Regions from separate parts of the Homo sapiens genome. Here region 2 is linked to region 1. The links are contacts of gene promoters, found by promoter capture Hi-C in human tissues and cell types (Jung and others, 2019). All regions are on one chromosome and are shown on one strand. Each heading gives the region's core, a stretch centred on a gene start or on the middle of the fragment in contact. The rest is flanking DNA. Distances are from core to core; before and after follow the strand shown.

Region 1 (7,064 bases), core at 1,880-4,379:
CCAATTATAATCTGGGGTTTGTAAACAGCCAGAAGATTCCCTTGGAGGGAGTAATTATATTCCCTTTAACACACTGTAAGACAAACACTTTCTCTTTAACATGCTGTGTGCTGACTACAAAGTGGGTTTACTTTACTAATGCCAAAGGAAAACAAACACTCAGAACCAAGGCAAGGGACCTTGGTGGTACAGAGATAGTAGGCGGTGAAAAAAAAGAGCAGGGAACATTAAAAAATGCCATGGAGTATTGTCAATCAGGGGCAGAACTGGTTTGGCCTGTCCGTATAAACATGCATGATGAGATCTTAAGAGCACAGATTTGGAGTTGGTCTTCTATCTCATTATAACTAGCATGTTCCTTTGAGCACAATAATTCATCATGTTAAGATTCATTTTCATTTTCCTCTTCCATAAAGTGGGAATAGGAATTCTTACTCATGAGATTATTTTCAGAATCAAATTAAGAAATATACCTACAGTGTCTAGAACAGTAGACACCTCCAAAACAATAACATATATTGCAGATATTATTGGTGCCAAAGCTATGTCTCCATGGAATTCATCATTCCATGTATAAAATGATAGCTTCCTGCAAAGAGCATCCACAATTCTCTGCCTGGGGATTCTCTCAGCCCAAGTACATGGGACAGGATGGAAATGTCAAGGAGTTAACAATTCCAGGAACAGTTCTTGACCAATCAAGCATAGACTTTAGTGAATAAATACCTATGTCCTCACTCCTTGGGTGAGACAACTCTGAGACTTGTTCTACACTGTCTCTCAAATGTCCCCTGCGGGTTTGAGCTCCAATTGTCCACTGCGGTAATCTGCTTATTAATACATCTCATATTGGGTAGTATCAATTTTCTGTCTCACTTTCCTACTTCCCAGCCAGAGCTTCCTGGGATTACTTCCAAAATAAACGACGGGTGTTCAAATTCTTGTTTCAGGACAGAATCCAGCCTAAACACTGTATCTCACAATGTAAACAAGACAAACAATTTGGACAATTGGATTCACAATAAAATGTTCAATTCACTAACCAAGCCCTATTCAGGCTTCTTTTAGCCCTCTTCCTTCCATCCCATGGCCATTGCCTCAGTTGGGACCATTCTCATTTATTTTGTTTCTTTTTGGGGATTTTTTTTTTTTTTTGCCTGCACTTAGTCTCTAACTGATCTCGATGCTTCCAGTAACTCTATCATCTAATCCATCACCCACTTACTGTCAAAGTTATTATCCTAAAATGCAGTTCTGGTAATGCTCTCCCCATGTTTTTGTTTTTTAAGCCTTTATGGCACCAATTGCCTCTGTGATTATGTCTTAAATTTTATAACCTGGTATGTGAGAACTTTCAAAAGCTGGTCCCAATAAACCTTTCAGCCTCATCTCCAATGATTGCTAAATACAGCCAATGTTCTGCCTACATAGAACAAACCAGAATCTCAAAAGCCCTTTTACCTGTTACCTTTCTGTGTTATTTGAATGAGCTTGCGACCTTTTCTGCCAGAAGAACCTGCCTTATCCTTCAAGGTCTAGCCCAAATGTTCCCTCCTCCATGAGAACTTCTCCAACTCTCTGGACCAGTTTTTCAACAGGCTGCCTCTGTGCATATTCTACTATGTACCAATCATGTATTAAGCCCTGGGAAAACCACGCTGGATAAAAGTAGAAATAGCTCCTGCTCACATGAAGTTCACAGTTGGATAAAGGAAACAGATATTATCAGGTAAACATATAAAAGTTGGCTACAAAGGGACATAAGTGTCTATAGTCAGGGAGGACACCAATCTGGAGGTTGGAGTGCCTCCCAACAGGAATGGACCCTTGAGGTGAGAACGAAGTAGGAGTTAACACCAGATAAAGGAGATGGAACACATACCCCAGGCCAAGGGGACAGCAGGTGCAGAACCCTGTGGAAGGAGGGAAAATGGCAATCGTCTTTTTTTTTTTTTTTTTTTTTTTTAAGGAATAGAAGACAAGGGCATTTAAAGCAGTGAGGCACAGGAAGAATGAGGGGAGAGAAGAGGCAGCACTTACATCATTCATTGTACCACATTTGTTGACTGTGTCCTTCATGCCTCATGCTCTGAAATTGACCTTTTCCAATATAAGGACCATGTCTCACTGAAATCATGTCCACCCCAGCACTTCACACAATATAGAAAAAAAAATCAATGTACCCAATTTATAGATGAGTGTGTTGAGGCTCAGGAAGGTTGAATGAGTTGCCCAAGATCTCAAGGCTGGCAATGGCATAGCAACTATAATAGAATATAGACCTACTTCCTCACCTGCATCTCTTTCCTTAAACTGCCCCTAGGAAAACCACGTCCTTCCCCATTATTTTATTTCAGAAATTCCAAGTTTTTCTATGAGCTGTTTTTCTCAAAGAGCCTGATAACAAAACAAAACGCCAGTTACTACTCTGTGTATGTGCATGCATGTTGGGGAGCGGGTACACACTGGTCTTCCGGGGATCAGAACACGAACAGGATCCTTTCTGGTACAGGATTCTTGTCTGAAGCCTCTTTAATAGCCCGAAATGGTGTGGGTGGTGAGAATTCGCCGTCGTAAGGAAGCCCCTGGTGATACCCAGCAAAGAGCATCCCGGCTGACCCTGCAGGTCTGGAGTGAAAAGACCCTGCACTGGACTCTTCAGGGCAGTGAGCGGGATCTCTAGTTCCCTGCTTCCCAAACCTCTCCGCCCTTCCACCCAAAACTGGCTGTTTGAGAAACGACCCAATTTCCCGACTATCCCGCCCAGCCTCGAAGATGGGAGGGAGAGAGGGCAACCTTGTCGCGGTAAGGCATCCTCCAGGCCCAGACATTAGTCTCGGTCCATTTCAAGGCACCCGAGCCTGTGCCGTATATAACCAAGTACTGGGCCCACAGGAAGGGGGATGACAGGGTGGTCTCTCTAGGCTCGTTTTAGTCACAGATCTTCGGCAAATTTGGGTTTAGGGCCGCGATCCCGACCCTAACTTGGGACTATTTCAGGAACTGGAGTTGAGGCTTCGTTGGGACAGGAAAGAAGGGTGGGGCGGGGGTGAAGCGCTTAGGGCACGGCTCTTGTGAGGATTACGGCGGAGGCTGTGGACCGCGGCGGCGCTCGCAGAGGCTGCAGCCATTGCACAGCCGAGCATCCCACATTCAACAGGAGGAACCCGCGGGAGAGGAGCCCCACTCCCCCAGCGCCGCAGCCACCGCAGCCACCGCAGCCCGTGCGCCCCGCGCCCTCGAGCGCCATGGCCAAGGAAGGCGTGGAGAAGGCGGAGGAGACGGAGCAAATGATCGAGAAGGAGGCAGGCAAGGAGCCGGCGGAGGGCGGCGGCGGCGACGGCTCGCACCGCCTCGGGGACGCCCAGGAGATGCGCGCGGTGGTGCTGGCTGGCTTCGGGGGGCTCAACAAGCTGCGGCTCTTCAGGAAGGCCATGCCCGAGCCTCAGGACGGCGAGCTCAAGATCCGCGTCAAAGCCTGGTCCAGTATCCGCGCCTTTCTCGCTTTCTCTCTTTTTGCGCGCTGGGCGCTGGGGAGGGGGTGGGAAAGCTGCGGCTGGGATGCTGCCCGGGTAGAACCGCCGCGCGCACCCCCTCCGCGCCCTCACCCGGGTCTCAGAGCCTCCCCGGGCCAAAGCTGGGGAGGATGCAGAGGGGCGGCCTCCCCAAGCCAGATCTAGGGGTGACGGGAGGAGAATGTGAGCTCCTGGGCGCGGGGAGAATGCTGGCGCCCAGGCACCCCGGGTCTGGAAGATTGCGCTACGGGAGTTCTCCGTCTGAGAGGACAACTCAGCTTTCGCACGGGAGGGTTGATGCTTAACAGAATTAAAAATATATGTATTAAGAACCGCAAGCCCACTGTGTGCCAGCCGCCGTTGGTAGTTTTACACGTGCGATCTTATTTAATACTTCCTGGGACCTAATGAGTCAGGTGCCATCATGATCCGTTTACAGGTAAGAAAGCCGCCGCTCAGCGAGAATGAGTGATTTGCCCAAGATCAGTCAGCTGCCACTAAGTGGCTTGGCCGGGAATTTGATACATGATCTTTTTTCACCTCTATGCTGTTGTCCTGAAGGGCCTGGGACAGGGTGCAGGGCTGGATCCCGCCTCCTGCCCACTTCCTTCCCCGTAGCCTGACGGGGAAAGGAACTAGGAAGGAAGAGGGTCGGTACCTTGCACCCAGGCTTGGTGAGGGTGGAGACCAGGGCTGCAGCGCAACCCCCTCCATGCCCCTCTCCATCCTCTGTTTCTCCGAGAGGGGAAAAAACCCTGATCAGTCTCCCCGGAATTCCTGGTCCCATCTCAGAAGGAGCTCAGCTCTCTAAGCTGCCCTCTATTCCCCATTCCCCCTGGGGGAACTTCTCCAGGCCCTCACGCTCAGCTGAAATTCCCGGGGAGAGTTTAAGCCTCTCTGTGTGCGGGCACTGTAATTTCCCTGAAGTTCTGGGAAGAGCTTACCCAGCAGAGGCGGACTGGACCCAACACTAGGTTTGCATGTTAAACTTGTAAGGGGAACTTGCTATTAATCACGGTGAGACGAGCCTATTCCTTCCCATCTGTTTTCTAGAGCCCCCCAGTACATACTGCTCTCCAAAGCAGCAGCCAGCTCACGAGCTTCTAGGTTAGATCAGAAACCCAATATCTGGACCTCTCTAGAGGCACGAGAAATACAAACGAGGGTCCCCTCCCGTTCACCACCTTGAGAACAGACGCAGGTTTCATCGGCCAGATTAGAAAGCAGCTAGTGGGAGAAGCAGCCGCTGATCCCTGCCTTGCTGCTCATATATGCAGCTGGTCAGGTTTGACTCTGAACACGACTCGTGAGTCTCTGTGGGGAATTCCGGGTAAGGGAAGAGGCTTTTGCAAACCGGGGGATCCTGTACAATAAACTCTTATTGAACCAAGTTGTTTGATCCCAGAAGGAGAGCTTATATCTGCCCTTTCGCAGCTAAATCCCCAAAGACCAGCCCACTCCCCCACCCCACACTGTTTGGCCCACTGCACATCCTAAATAAGTTATCGCTGAATGAATGGATTGAGGAAAGAGCTCGGAGGAGGATTGTTGGGTCATTATTTTTCTTTACTTGCTGGTGGAAGAGCTTTTGCTTAGTACAATTAAAACCATGCATTTAGAACTCTCCTTCCTTAACCACTTCATCAAAAAAAATTACCTGTATACACACACCTATGCATATATGTGCATATACATATATACAATTATATATACAGTTGCATATGTATGCGTATGTAATTTATGACCCTTCATCCAAATTGAGGATGGGATTCTAGGATTCTAGAGTACATATTCAGAGAGGGAAAATGATAAAACTACTTTTTAAAGGAAAGAGCATCATCTGCAGTACACATAGTTCTGTGTTTTCCAGTCTTATGTTAACTGCATAATTGCTGATAGGAACTGAAGCATTTTGAAATAATAAATGTCAAGATGAAGGCCAAGAGATTGATTTTCAAAGCCAGATGTGAAAGCCTGTTCTTCAGTGGCGCTACACACACACACACAGAAATCACTGCACTTCCCCGACCCTAGTTGTTCAGAAAGCCAACCAGGCTGCAGGTACATTTGGAATACAGTGTTGCAAACAGCCCAGATTGATTTTCCTTTCACCAAGCTGGAAGCAGAGTTAATGGTTTTACAAGGAAGGATTGTAATAGGCTTGTAAATGGCCCACTGGGCAGCTCCTTCTCCTCTGGGCTGGGATTGGCTGGCCAGACATGATCATTGATTATAAGTTTTAGCCTTGGGATACAGGATGACTCATTCTGTATTTTTATGAATCAGCCGATGGCTTCCTGGATGATGGTCTCCCTTTTATCTGCTCTCTATTTTTAATAGAAACCTTTTTGTCATAATAGGATATGCTTTTTGCTTGGAATAAAGCATAGTCCATTTGAACCAGTATTAGACAGACCTGGAATGACGTTCCAAGTTGGCTATGAATTTTATGAAAATGGAAGAGATGAGGCAGGAAGAAATATCCATTTTATATCATGGACCCTTTTTCATTAATGCGCCAGTGAGATGGGTATTTTTCCTACAGAACAGAAGAGCAAATTGAGGCTTGGAAACATTGAGTAATTTGCCAAAAACATCAAAAAATAGTAGACTTAGGATTTGAATCTAATTCTCCTTATATTTTTGCTATTTTCCTTTTATTCCATTTTTGTCTCCCTTGGTGGAAAAGCCTTAGCACATGTGATTCCCCTCTTAGCATGCAGTCTCACTTTCTTTCCTTTCTCCACCGAAGATGGTTCCTTTGCTCTTTTTGTGTCTGGCTTAAGAGAATATTCTCTAGCTATTTCCAAAGTAGTATGGCTTTCTCCAGAAAGTAGAGACATTTTGGTCAAATGCAGCTCAAAAAGAACTGTTGCTGGGGTCAGGGTTGGAATGATAGCAGAGTCTTCTGTCTAAATTGTTTTTTAAAATGTCAGTTTTGATGGCAGATGGATTTCACCAATTATTCATGGAATACTTTACGCAACAAGAGGTTTAAGTGACCAGGTGGAAAAAGCATGTGGCCCTTGAAGAGAGAGGGACTTGAATATAAGCTTAAGCCTCATCTCTTCCTATCCATATGCCCCTGGGGGATGTGTCTCAGTGTCTCCAAACTTCCCATACATTATCTGCAAAGTGGGGATAATAAAATGAACTTCATGGTATTGTTGAAAGGATCAGATGCAAGAAAGACACTGCCGCGTTGTCAGCATTCAATAAGTAGGATTCATTGTGACTGTCGTTGTTGCCATATCTAAACCAATGTGATATATGCTGCTTGGTGACCTACAACTTGGAGGCCATCATTTTAATCATGTATATAATATAGGCAATATCATGTCACATCTGCTTAGTGATTAAGAGAGCTTCCTAGACATGAGTCCCAGCTCTGATACTTGCTAACTGGATGTCTTAGGTCTGGCTCCTTGGAGGCAGAACCTGACGCAGGGATCCTTTTTCAGGTGGTTTATTGAAAGTGTGCTTTTAGAACTATGGGAGCAAGGGAAGCAGGCTAGGGAAGAGGAAGGAGTTAAGCAAAGATGTGGTCTT
Region 2 (7,064 bases), core at 2,440-4,939, 56 kb before region 1:
TAAAAACAAAATTAAATAGATTTATCTTTTTAGATTTAAATAGATTTAACTTGTAGAGATTTATCCTGTACAATATGATGCTTTGAAGTATATATTCACTGTGGAATGACTAAATCTAGCTAATTAATTTACTACCTCACATCATAGTAACATACTACTTCACATAGTAACATATCACCACACACAATACCTCACATAGTAACATATTACTATACATATTACCTCACATAGTAACATATCACCATATACATCATATAGTAACATGTCATCATACATATTTTCTTCAAAATAGCATATTTTCTTTAAAAAAAAATTTAGGCCAGGCATGGCTCACACCTGTAATCCCAGCATTTTGAGAGGCCAAGGTGTGGGGATCACCTGAGGTCAGGAGTTTGAGACCAGCCTGGCCAACATGGTGAAACCCCATCTCTACTAAAAATGCAAAATTAGCTGGGTGTGGTGGTGCACACCTGTAGTTCCAGCTACTCGCGAGGCTGAGGCAGGAGAATCGCTTGAACCTAGAAGGCAGAGGTTGCAGTGAACCGAGATTATCCCACTGCACTCCAGCCTGGGCAACAGAGCGAGACTCTATCTCAATAAATAAATAAATAAATAAATTTTAAATCAACAGATAAAATTGTATAGATTTATCCTGTACAACATGATGTTTTGAAGTATATATTCACTATGGAATGACTAAATCTAGCTAATCAATGTACTAACTCACATAGTAACATATTACCACACACATTACCTCACATAGTAACATATTAACACATATACTACCTCATATGGTAACATATCACCACACACATTACCTCACATAGTAACATATTAACACACATACCTCATATGGTAACATGTCACCACACATAACATACTATCTCACATAGTCATCATCTTTGCACTAAGAACACTTTATATCCATTCAGCAATTTTCAAGAATACAGTATGTTAACTATAGTTACCATAGTATACAATACATCTCTCGAATTTATTCCTCCTGACTGGCTGAAACTTTTTATCTTTTGACCAACATCTCCCCAACCTCCCCCCAAACCACCTCAGCAGCTAGTAACCACCATTCTACTCTCTACTTCTCTGAGACTGACTTTTTAATATTCCACATATGAATGAGATCATGTGGCATCTGTGACTGGCTTATTTTACCTAACATAATTTCCTCCAGGTTCATCCATGTTGTCACAAATGACAGGATTTCCTTCTTTTTTATGACTGAATAATATTCCTCTCTGTATATACATTTTCTTCATTCACTTGTTGATGGATACTCAGGTTGATTCCATGTCTTGGCCATTGTGAACAATGCTGCAGTAAACATGGGTGTGCAGAGACCTCTTCGATATACTGATTTCATTTCCTTTGGATATATAACCAGTAGTGGGATTGCTGGATCATATGGCAATTCTGTTTTTAATTTTTTGAGAAACCTCCATTCTGTTTTCCACAATGATTGTACTAATTTACATTCCCACCAAGAGTGTGTGATAGTTCCCTTTTTTCCATATCCTCAACAACACTTACGTTTTGTTTTTTAGATAATGGCCATTCTAAAAGGTGTGACGTAATGTCTCTCTGTGGTTTTAATTTGAATTTTCCTGGTGATTAGTGATGTTAAGCATTTTTTTCATATACCTTTTGAGAAATGTCTATTTAGTTCCTTTGTCCATTTTTAAATTTTTTTTTATTATTGATATTGAGTTGAGTTCCTTATATATTTTGGATACTAGCCCCTTTTCAGATGTATGGTTTGCAAATATTTTCTCCCATTCCACAGATTGTCTTTTCATTCTGTTGAGTGTTTCCTTAGCTGTGCAAAAGCTTTTTAGTTGAAGTAACCCCATGTTTTATTTTTGCTTTCATTGCCTGTGCTTTTGGGGTCATATTTTAAAAATCATTGCCCAGCTCAAGGATAACATTTTCTTGAGAGCAATGTTCTCACTAATCCAAAATGATCTTTTCCAATTCCTATTACCTATTAATTGGAATAGGTGTACAAGGCAAATTGAATAAAATTGGTATGCTATGAGATACTTTTGAAACCTTTCAAAATACAGTCATGTGCTGCAAAACTGTTTTTCCATCAATGATGGACCATGGACCATATATACAATGGTGGCCCCAAAAGATGATAATGGAGCTGAAAATTCCTATCACCAACTGACATCATAGCAGTCATAATGTCATAGCACAAGACATTACTCACATGTTTGTGGTGATGCTGGTGTAAACAAACCTACTGTGTTGCCAGTGGTCTAAAAGTGTAGCACATACAATTATGCACAATATATAATACTTGATAATGATAAAAAATGACATTTCTGGTTTATGAAATTTACTACACTATTCTTTTAAATCATTATTTTAGAGTGTTCTTCTTCTACTTATTTTTTAAAAATAACTATAAAGCAGCCTTAGTAAGGTCCTTCAGGAGATATTCCAAAAAACACAGGCATTGTTATTGTAGGAGATGAGAGCTCCATGTATGTTATTGTTGCCCCTGAAGACCTTCCAGTGGGACAAGAGGTAGAGGTAGAAGACAGTGATATTGATTATTCTGTGTGTTGTATCTTAGTTTTTAGCAAGAAAGTTTAAAAAGAAAAAAAAATCCTTAAAAATAGAAAAAAGCTTCTAGAATAAGGATATAATGAAAATATTTTGTATAGCTGTGTAATGTATTTGTGTTTTAAGCTAAGTGTTATTACAAAAGAGTCAAAAAATTAAAAATTAAAAAGTTTAGAAAGTAAGAAGTAATAGTAAGCTACAGTTAATTTATTATTTAAAAAAGAAAAAGGCCGGGGGGTGGTGGCTTATACCTGTAATCCCAGCACTTTGGGAGGCCAAGGTGGAGGGAACCATCTGAGGTCAGGAGTTCGAGACCAGCCTGGCCAACATGGCCAAACCTCATCTCTACTAAAAATACAAAAATTAGCCAGGCATGCTGGCGGGTGCCTGTAATTCCAGTTACTTGGGAGGCTGAGGCAGGAGAATCACTTGAACTCAGGAGTCAGAGGCTGCAGTGAGCTGAGATCCCATCACTGCACTCCAGCCTGGTCGACAGACGAGAACACGTCTCAAAAAAAAAAAAGAAAAAGAAAAATATTTTTATAAACATACTATAGCCTAAGTGTCTAGTATTTATGAAGTCTAGAGCAGTGTTTAATGTCCTAAGCCTTCACATCCACTCACCACCCACTCATTCACTGACTCACACAGAGCAGCTTTCAGTCCTGCAAGCTCCATTTATGGTAAATGCCCCATACTGGTGAACCATTTTTGATCTTTTATACCATATTTTTACTGTACCTTTTCCGTGTTTAGATGCACAAATACTTACCATTATGTTACTATTGCCTGCAATATCCAGGACAGTAAAATGGTATACAGGTTGTAACCCAGAAGCAGTAGCTACACCATATAGCCTAGGTTTATAGTAGTCTATATTATCCAGGTTTGTGCAAGTGCACCCTGTGTTGTTTACACGATGATGAAATCGCCTAATGCATTTTTCAGAACGTGTCCCTGTTGTTGAGTAACACGTGACTGTACATTTAAAACAGGCATCATATCAGGTCTGTTTCTGTCAAGCCTGATGACTGCTTGGAGGTGCGTTTGTCCCTGGCTGCCTTGGAGTTGAACGTTCTAACAATAAAGCACTGTTTCAGAGTTGCTGTAACATTAGGTGTATTTCTTACGCATTTGGTAAGACATATTTGCAGTCGCTGGTGAGTGTTCAAGACAGTAGAAATATGTCCATCAGCCTTCTTTTCACCTGTTTTTACAACTGTAATTGATGTGAAGATGTCTAAGGATTTAGCTATGGCAGCAATTTCTGCAGTGTTCCTGATTTATCAGCACAGAAGGACTTAAAAAAAAATTTTTAAGTCTTGCCCAAATGAGGCTGAAGCCTATAAAATATCAAAAAGTTTATCATGGCATTGTCATAGTCCTCTCAAGCTGCTATAACAAAACACCTTAGACTGGGTGGCTTATAAACAACAGATACTAATTCTCACAGTTCTGGAGGCTGGGAAGTCCAAGATCAAGCTGCCAGAAGATTTGGAGTCTGGTGAGGGCCCTGTTTCAGTTCATAGATAGTCATCCTTTCAGTGTCCTTACAGGGAAAGGGGCAAAGAGTCTGTCTCTGGTCTCTTTTATAAGGGCATTCATCTCATTGATGAGGGCTCTGCCCCCATGACCTAAACACCTCCCAAAGATCCCACCTCCTAATACCATCACCTTAGGGGTAAGGATTTCAACATATGGATTCATGGGAGAATAAACATTCAGGCCATTGCAGGCATCTAGTTTATCCTTACATAGATATATGGCCTAGGTGCTAAAAATGGCAACATGATCTCTTGATTGAGCTTCTCAATGTCCAGGACTGACCTTACAAGTTCTCATTATTAAATATTTAATGTGGCCACGCACCATTCCCGTGCATCCGCTCCATCCTCATGGAACAATCTTCACAGCTCTGTGAGGAGCACACTGTCATTACCCCATTGCACACAGTTGGAAAGAGGCAGACCCAGGACTCTTGCTGAGCCTGAGGGCTCCTTGACAATTCAGGAGAGAAAGGATAGTGGGTACTAGGCACAAGTGGGCATAAAAGAAATTGAGGTCACTCTGCTGAGATATTTGGCCCTGCAGAAGAGAGAACAGTGGAGGGTTTGTGCCTCTCCACTTCTGCCCAAGATATGAGAGAAATAATTTTAAAGACAGAGATAAGAAAGGGGGTAATTTTAGGATGCTATAGAGACACTGTCAGTTCTCCTAAAGGCAGGAAGGAATGGAATCAAGGAAGGGGGCAATGCGGGGAAAGAGGAGACCTCTTTTCCTTTACCAACACACGCAAAGATAAACATAGATGCCAACACAATGCTAATAGCTCCAGGGCCTATATTTTTTGTGTCTTACTAAACTTTTGATAAATGTGTGTTGTACTGATTAAAAACACAGGCTCGTAAATTAAACACTGGTTTATATTCCAGCTCACTGAGTGAACTTGGTCAGGTTATTTAACCTCTGTGAGCCTAAGTTCCTTTGTCTGAAAATGGAAATAATAATAGTATAAGAGTAGCTTATGGCTGGGTGCGGTGGCTCACGCCTGTAATGCCAGCACTTTGGGAGGCCGAGGAGGGCAGATCACGAGGTCAGAAGATCGAGACCAGTCTGGCTAACATGGTGAAACCCCGTCTCTACTAAAAATACAAAAAATTAGCCGGGCATGCTGGTGGGCACCTGTAGTCCCAGCTACTCAGGAAGCTGAGGCAGGAGAATGGTGTGAACCCAGGAGGCAAGGCTTGCAGTGAGCCGAGTTCGCACACTGCACTCCAGCGTGGGACACAGAGCGGGACTCCATGTCAAAAAAGAAAAGAAAAGAGTAGCTTACCTGCCCATCAATGCATGAGTGGATAAACAAACTGTGATCTATACACACAATAGAATACTATTCAGCCATAAAAAAGGAAGTACCAATACACGTAGAACATGAAGAACCTCAAAAACATATGTGAAGGGAAAAATGCCAGACACAAAAGTCGAGACTAGGTAAATCCACAGAGACAGAAAGCAGGGACAGAGGGAGAGGGGAATGAGAATCAACTGTTGTATGGGGTTTCCTTCTGGGATGATGAAAATATTCTGGAATGAGATAGTAGGGATGATTGTACAACACAGTAAATGTATTAAACGTCTCTGCTTTTTTTCACTTTAAAATGGTTACTTTTATGTGAATTTCACCTCGTTCAAAAATTAGTAGCTTATAGGACTGTTCTGAGGACCCAGTGGGAAAAATCTTTATGAAACAACATGCCCAGAACATAATAAGCAGCCATTAAAGGACTCAACAAAATTATCTGTTGATAATATTGCCCCTTACATTATTCTTTCAGCTTTTTCCCCCTAGCAGTGTCAATCTGTGTGTGTGTGATATGGTTTGGATCCTGTCCCCACCCAAATCTCATGTTCAGTCGTAAACCCCAATATTGGACCTGGGGCCTGGTGGGAGGTGATTTGATCACGTGGGCGGATTTCCCCCTTGGTACTGTCATCACAATAGTGAGTGAGTTCTCACGAGATAAGGTTGTTTAAAAGTGTGTAGCACCTCCCCTCCCTCTCTCTGTCTCCCGCTCCAGCCATGTGAAGTGCTTGCTCCTCCTTTACCTTCCGCCATGATTGTAAGTTTCCTGAGGTCTCCCCAGAAGCCAAGCAGACGCCAGCATCATGCTCCCTGTACGGCCTGCGAGACTGTGAGCCAACCAAACCTCTTTTCTTTATAAACTACCCAGTCTCAGTTATTTATTTATAGCAGTGCAAGAACAGATTAATACAGTGTGTGGTATCTTTTGGGGACAAATAGAATAAAAGTTAGCAGTGAGAAAAATTTTCAAGGTTCATTTCTTAAAAAGGATTCAAGAAAACACATTTGTGGGCAATAGGGGTCTTGATACCACCACCTGGGTAAGAATGGTCTCTGGTACAAAATAGAAGTCCAGTAAGTATTTGTTGAATGCATAAATAGTTCCAAAATTAGAATCCCACATTGTAGCGCTGTTCTTTCTATATCCAGCTAAGAAGGGCCCCTGGAGAAGTTTGCTTCCCTGGAGGTAAGCGTGACCCTACAGACATGGATGATGCAGCCACAGCTCTCCGGGAAGCCCAGGAGGAAGTGGGTCTCCGTCCTCACCAAGTGGAAGTTGTCTGCTGCCTGGTGCCATGTCTTATTGATGTAAGGGTTTCCTGAGACACTCATGAGCACCGTCCCCACCCCCAGGTGGATCTACTGTTCTCAGGATTCCACATTTTCCAAACATAACCCCAAAGAGTACTGTACATAAAGTCAAGAGAACAGGTTCTCCTACAGACATTGCCCCTCATGAGTCAAGTGGCTATGGGCAACCCCTTTTGCCTCTCCGGACCCCTCTTTCCCCATCCAGAAATAAAAGGGTTGAACTCCCATCAGTGGATTTCAAACTGGATGCCATAGAACCCTAGAGAGATGCTTCAGAATTATTAACATTCAGTTCACATTTATT

The links. Contacts are between HindIII fragments. The study calls those that stand out against the background at their distance.
Region 2: a fragment that was not itself captured here is called in contact with the fragment with the promoter of VAT1L in region 1 in 1 of the 25 tissues and cell types used here (liver).

What each region holds. Positions count from the first base shown.
Region 1 is chr16:77,785,435-77,792,498 of GRCh38, forward strand. It overlaps VAT1L (vesicle amine transport 1 like), which reads left to right and starts at 3,130. Exons shown (of 9, transcript NM_020927.3): 1 at 3,130-3,481. The coding sequence starts at 3,249. All of the region lies in intron 1 of LOC107984878 (a long non-coding RNA gene), which reads right to left. The HindIII fragment of the contact is 13,812 bases long and covers 1-6,999 here.
Region 2 is chr16:77,729,230-77,736,293 of GRCh38, forward strand. NUDT7 (nudix hydrolase 7) reads left to right here. Exons shown (of 4, transcript NM_001105663.3): 3 at 6,599-6,757. Among named protein-coding and RNA genes, the nearest start is that of NUDT7, 10 kb to the left of the region's middle. The HindIII fragment of the contact is 7,499 bases long and covers 1-7,064 here.